Linked DNA regions of Homo sapiens: region 2 is linked to region 1. The links are contacts of gene promoters, found by promoter capture Hi-C in human tissues and cell types (Jung and others, 2019). All regions are on one chromosome and are shown on one strand. Each heading gives the region's core, a stretch centred on a gene start or on the middle of the fragment in contact. The rest is flanking DNA. Distances are from core to core; before and after follow the strand shown. Region 1 holds the start of SLC2A7 (solute carrier family 2 member 7). Region 2 has its middle 18 kb from the start of H6PD.

What was found. The method cuts DNA at HindIII sites, captures the fragments that hold promoters and counts their contacts. A contact is called where the count stands out against the background at its distance.
Region 2: a contact is called between a fragment that was not itself captured here and the fragment with the promoter of SLC2A7 in region 1, in 1 of the 25 tissues and cell types used here (spleen).

The regions. Positions count from the first base shown.
Region 1 is chr1:9,024,691-9,027,922 of GRCh38, forward strand. It overlaps SLC2A7 (solute carrier family 2 member 7), which reads right to left and starts at 1,733. Exons shown (of 12, transcript NM_207420.3): 1 at 1,605-1,733; 2 at 286-384. The coding sequence starts at 1,655. The HindIII fragment of the contact is 20,163 bases long and covers 1-3,232 here.
Region 2 is chr1:9,215,658-9,218,723 of GRCh38, forward strand. No RefSeq gene overlaps it. Among named protein-coding and RNA genes, the nearest start is that of H6PD, 18 kb to the right of the region's middle. RefSeq lists an enhancer at 250-777. The HindIII fragment of the contact is 4,427 bases long and covers 1-3,066 here.

The DNA of each region.
Region 1 (3,232 bases), core at 483-2,982:
GTGGGACCTGAGGCCCAAAAAGACTGGGCTGGAAAATGGAACAGGTCCCCCAGCATCCCAATGTGCCCGGAAAGGACGACACTCCAGGGGGAAACACCTCCTGCCACGCCCTGGTCTCCAGGGGTGAGCATCCAGGGTACTAGGGCAAGCTGGCTGCTCCCAAAGGCAAGATGGTGCCTCCTACAGGCAAGATGGCAGCCTCCACGGAGGAAGATGGCGGCTACCTTCCACCCACGACCCCGGTCAGCTGCTGCCCGGCCCACCTTGTGCCCACCTTGTGCCCACCTTGTGCGGCGTGTTGACCACAGAGAGGTTGTAGCCGTACTGGAAGGCTGAGCCAAAGGCCGCGCTCAGTGTCGCCAGCAACAGCGTCGGCTGGAGCCGCTGTAGGAGACAAGTCCAAGGTCGGGACGCTGTGGGCTTGGGCCTCGGGAAGTGGAGTGGCTGGGCCTCCACCTCCCTCCAGCCTGGGCTGGAAGTGGGGGATGGGGGATCCCAGGCCGTGCCCCCGGAAAAGAGGAGGAGGTGGCGCAGGGCTGGGGCTTTTGGGGGCTGAGGTCTCTGCACGCATTCATTCCCTCCTTGAGGATGTATCTGAGCATCTGCTACGTGCCTGGCCCTGTACTAGGCCCTGGAGGCCAAGTGTGAAGTAGGGGATGCTTTAGGAAAAAGGCCCAGCAAAGCACTGCCTTTAAGAAGCTCACTTTCTAGTGAGGGGAGCCCACCCCGTCCAAGAAAGACAAAGATGATAATTCCAAATAGCTAGAATGCTGTGAGGACAATAAAATAGGGTGATGGGTGGGGTAGCAGCCTGTGAGGAATGAGAGACTGTGTTCAGTAGGGTGGGCAGGGCAGGGAAGGCCTCTCTGAGCAGGCGCCCTTTGAGCCGGGACCAGAATGGATGAGAGGGAGCAGCTGTGTAAGCATCGGGGGGAAGAGCATCCCAGACAGAGGGACTCATTGCTTGCCTCTGCCTCTAGAACAGGCCCTTAGGAAAATCCCGGCAGTCGCCTGTGCTCAGGGCCAGGCTTTCCATGGTTGCCACAACACCCAGGGCAGCTTGGAGGGGAACTGGCCTGAGGGCCAAAGTCTGAGGAGCAGGTGGGCAGGGTCTCTGACCATGTCCTAGAGCCAAGGCCCTGGTGCATGCCCCCTCCCCACTGCCCCCTCCACCCCTCACTCCTGTTCCACATGTCCTCACCCCAACCCTCACACTTAGCTGCCTGGCTGCCCACAGCCCGTAGCTCTGCACATCCAGGAACAACCAGACAGAAGGGCAGGATTCGGGCATTCTTCAGAGGCCATCTCCCCTCGATCTTTAAGGGTAGGGGAAGCGGAGGGGAGCAGGGGTGGAAGGGAGAGAGGCATCTCCAGCACCATCCGCTCTCCCAGCATTCGCTCAGCCACCCTGGCCCATGTCTGAGCCATGAGGTTTGAGCATAGCTGCTTCTCCACATGGCTCTCCCAGGCCTGGTTATCCTGAAGAAAAAGGAAGCACGCTACCCGCTCCTTGCTAAAAGCATTCCACGGCCTTCACCTCCCTCCACAGGTCTGCACAGCTGGTGGGAGAGGGACAGTGACAGGTTCCTAGTCTTGGCACTTACCCCCTCCCTGGATGGAATGGGTGGAGGGGTTCCCGCCTCTTTGTTCTCCATCCTTGTTCAGGTGGGAGAACAGGTGTGCTCTACCTCCCAAGTGACACCTGCTCTGCGCCAGCCACCTAAAGACCGGCTGTTTCTCCCCTGGGCCTACCTGGCTTTATGATCCTTTTGCTCTCTGGACCCTGCTGACTTTCCCCAGGAGCAAATTCTCCTTGGAAATGTTGATAAGACACACGTTGCCAGTGCACAAATCATACACAGCACGAATTTCGTCTTTGCACCCACCAAGCCCCAAGCCGAAAGCTCCCTAGTTGCACCAAGGAGAGAGAAAAAACATTGCCTGACATTGGTCCGCAGAAATGAGGACTTTCAGAGACCCAGTGAGGCTGTGACCTGGATCTAGGATGCTTTTTCTGTGTCATTTTTCCATGTATGCCTCTTTTTTTTTTGAGACAGGGTCTTCCTTTGTTGCCCAGGCTGGAGTGCAGTGGCGCAATCTCAGCTCACTGCAACCTCGGCTTCCTGGGCTCAAGCTATTCTCCTGCCTTAGCTTCCCAAGTAGCCGGGATTATAGGCACGTGCCGCCACACCCAGCTTTTTTTTTTTTTTTTTTTTTTTTTTGAGGTGGAGTCTCGCTTTGTCGCCCAGGCTGGAGTGCGGTGGCGCAATCTCAGCTCACTGCAAGCTCTGCCTCCCGGGTTCACGCCATTCTCCTGTCTCAGCCTCCTGAGTAGCTGGGACCACAGGTGCCTGCCACCATGCCTGGCTAATTTTTTTTTTGTATTTTTAGTAGAGACGGGGTTTCACCGTGTTAGCCAGGATGGCCTGGATCTCCTGACTTCATGATCTGCCCGCCTCGGCCTCCCAAAGTGCTGGGATTACAGGCGTGAGCCACCGTACCCAGCCTTTTTTTGTGTGTTTTTAGTAGAGATGAGGTTTCACCATGTTGGCCAGGCTGGTCTAGAACTCCTGACCTCTAGTGATCCGCCTGCCTTGGCCTCCCAAAGTGCTGGGCTTACAGGCATGAGCCACCGCACCTGGCTTTTTTTTTTTTTTTAACTTTTATTTTAGGTTCAGGGTATATGTGAAGGTTTGTTACATAGGTAAACTCGTGCCACGGGGGTTTGTTGTACAGATTATTTCATCACCCAGGTATTAAGCCCACTTCCCAGTGTTTGTTTGCTGCTCCTCTCCCTCCTCCCACCCTCCAGCCGGAAGTAGATCCCAGTGTTTGCTGTTCCTTTCTGTGTGTTCCTAGGTTCTTCATATATGCCTCCTCTTGTGCATTTGGACTAATTGTCCATTTGGGGGAAAGAACAAATTAAACACTTTCAGAAAAACACAGTTATTATTTCTAATTACACTAAATAGTGTTAAATAAGTCAATAAAATATTGGACAAAGGTGCTTATTTCAGAATCATTTCTACTAGCATTTTTTTTTTAAAGTAGAGAATGATTGAATAAATTAGGAGTAACTAATTGATTGGAATGCCAGACTTCTGTTTCAAAGGATAATTATGAAATGTGGGAACATGGAAACATTAACATGTTTTTTAATTAACATGACCTTTAAGAGAAGTGATCAAAGCAGAATACACATAGTATACCTGGGGAAGGCCAGGGTGCGGTG
Region 2 (3,066 bases), core at 366-2,865, 190 kb after region 1:
TGTAATCCCAATACTTCAGGAGGCCGAAGCGGGCAGATCACTTGAGGCCAGGAGTTCCAGACCAGCCTGGCCAAGGTGGTGAAACCCTGTCTCTACTAAAAATACAAAAATTAGCCAGGCGTGGTAGTGCGTGCCTGTAATCCCAGCTACTCCGGAGTCTGAGGCAGGAGAATTGCTTGAACCTGGGAGGCCGAGGTTGCAGTGATCACGCCATTGCACTCCAGCCTGGGCGACAGGGTGAAACTCTATCTCAATTAAAAAAATAGAAAGAGGCCGGGCACGGTGGACACGCCTGTAATCCTAGCACTTTGGGAGGCCGAGGCGGGTGGATCACCTGAGGTCAGGAGTTTGAGACCAGCCTGGTCAACATGGCAAAACTCCGTCTCTACTAAAAATAGAAAAATTAGCTGGGCGTGGTGGTGGTGGTGCGCACCGGTAATCCCAGCTACTAGTGGGGGCTAAGGCAGGAGAATTGCTTGAACCCGGGAGGTGGAGGTTGCAGTGAGCGGAGATCGCACCACTGCACTCCAGCCTGGGCGACAGAGCAAGACTTCATCTCAAACAAACAAACAAACAAAAAAACCCCAAAAGAGCTCCCATGCAACAAGTTTAAATTCCTATCAAACCCAGGGGATAGCGAAGCCAGCCTGTGACCTACCCGTCCAGTTACACTGCGCCTGTTCTCTCCCTGTGTCTTCTTCCTTCTCCACTGTAAGCCTAGGAAACCGCCAGAAAGTGCAGCTAGCCAGCAAAGGGATGCCCCACAGGGAAAACAGTATCCCACGCCCAGCCGCCTCCCCACCAGGAGCTGGGGGTGGGGAGAAGCTGTCATTTGGGGGGGTTGACACTTACATGGCACTGCACATGTTATTTTATTTTATTTATGTATTTATTTGAGATGGAGTCTTGCTCTGTCACCCAGGTTGGGGTACAATGGTGTGATCTCGGCTCATTGCAACCTCCACCTCTGGGTTCAAGCGATTCTCATGCCTCAGCCTCCCAAGTAGCTGGGATCACAGGTGCGTGCTACCACGCCTGGCTAATTTTTGTATTTTTAGTAGACACAGGGTTTCACCATGTTTGCCAGGCTGGTCTCGAATTCCTGACCTCAGGTGATCCGCTCACCTTGGCCTCCCAAACTGCTGGGATTACAGGCGTGAGCCACCGTGCCTGGCCTGGGACTGCACATTGTAGATCCTGATTGGAGAGAGGGGCCAGCAGAGTCAAGGGCCTGCCTTAGATCTCATGCAAGGCATGAATAAGAGCATTTGAACAGGTTTGAACCAGGCAGTGGGGGGAAGATTAAGTGTTTTCTACACCCAATGAGTCCCACTTGTTCAATGTACCAGTTACACAAAAAAGCTTTAAAAATATGCCAGGGTTAATCTCCCAATTTCAGGGAAGCACAATTAGCACATCCATTAATTAGGGCTCCATTTACACTTCCTGTCTCACTTCTAAATACCTGTGTGTGTGGAGCCAGTTCTAATTGTAGCACTCATTAATGTTCTATTTGTGATGTGGGTTTCAGGTACCTGGGAACCTCACACTAACATTACCCCGTGTCCTGGAACTTAGTACAGATGCATCCCTTTGGGGCCTCATCTGTGGGGTGCTTAATTCTAGAAGAGTTAGGAGAACATCACTGGCATGCTACCCAATTGCATGGGTTCTGGGAACAGACCTCGGCACACATTTGAATTTTTCATATGCCTTTTATTTTTATTTTATTTATTATTATTATTTTTTTGAGACAGAGTCTCTCTCTGTCGCCCAGGCTGGAGCGCAATGGCGCCATCTGGGCTGACTGCAACCTCCACCTCCCAGGTTCAAGTGATTCTCCTGCCTCAGACTTCTGAGTGCCACCACACCTGACTAATTTCTGTATTTTTGGCAGAGATGGGATTTCACCACGTTGGCCAGGCTGGTCTCAAACTCCTGACCTCAGGTGATCCACCTGCCTCGGCCTCCCAAAGTGCTGGGATTACAGGCGTGAGCTACTGCACCTGGCCGTATGCCTTTTAAGTGTTTTGTTTTGTTTTGTTTTTGAGACAGGGTCTTGCTCTGTGCAGTGGCACAATCTCAGCTCACTGTAGCCTCAACTTCCTGGGCTCAATGATCCTCTCACCTTAGCCTCTTGAGTAGCTGGGACTATAGGCATGCGCCACCACACCTGGCTAATTTTTGTATTTTTTGTAGGGTTTCACCATGTTGCCCAGGCTGGTCTCGAACTCCTGGGCTCAAGCGATCCACCTGCCTCAGCCTCCCAAAGTGCTGGGATTATAGGTGTGAGCCACAGACGGGCACGGCTTAAATGTTCTTAACCTTCTCCTATACTGGACTTGTGATGAAGGCCAAGTGTCTGACTTAAGCTGACACGTAATTACCCTTTACAATAAATTGAAGATGGGACAGGCGTTGTTGAGCCGTTGAGAGGGATACAGAAATGGAGACGAGACCTGGGCCCTTGAAGAGGCTCCTGTTTTCACCATGTGGACTTGGCTGCCGTCCCAGCTCTGATAGGTGTCAGCTACAGTGATTAAAACCTCCGTGTGTCTAACCCTTCCCATACAAATGCAGAAGGATGGCCGGCTGGTGGCTGGGCTCCTCCTAATCCCAGGACGAGGGAGAGCCAGACAGGATCCTGGGTTAAACGACACTGCACCAGCCAAGTGGCACGTAGCTTCTCATTTATGGGATGTGGCCCCAACTGTGACTCGTCTTTCCTTTTTTTTTTTTTTTTTGAGACGGAGTCTCACTCTGTCACCCAGGCTGGAGTTCAGTGGCACGATCTCGGCTCACTGCAAGCCCCGCCTCCCGGGTTCACGCCATTCTCTTGCCTCGGCCTCCCGAGTAGCTGGGACTACAGGCACCCGCCACCACGCCCGGCTAATTTTTTGTATTTTTAGTAGAGACGGGGTTTCACCATGTTAGCCAGAATGGTCTCGATCTCCTGACCTCGTGATCCGCCCGCCTCGGCCTCCCAAACTGTTGGGATTACAGGCATGAGCCACTGTGCCCAGCCAACATCTGGCTAATTTTCATATTTTGGGGAGAGACGTGGTT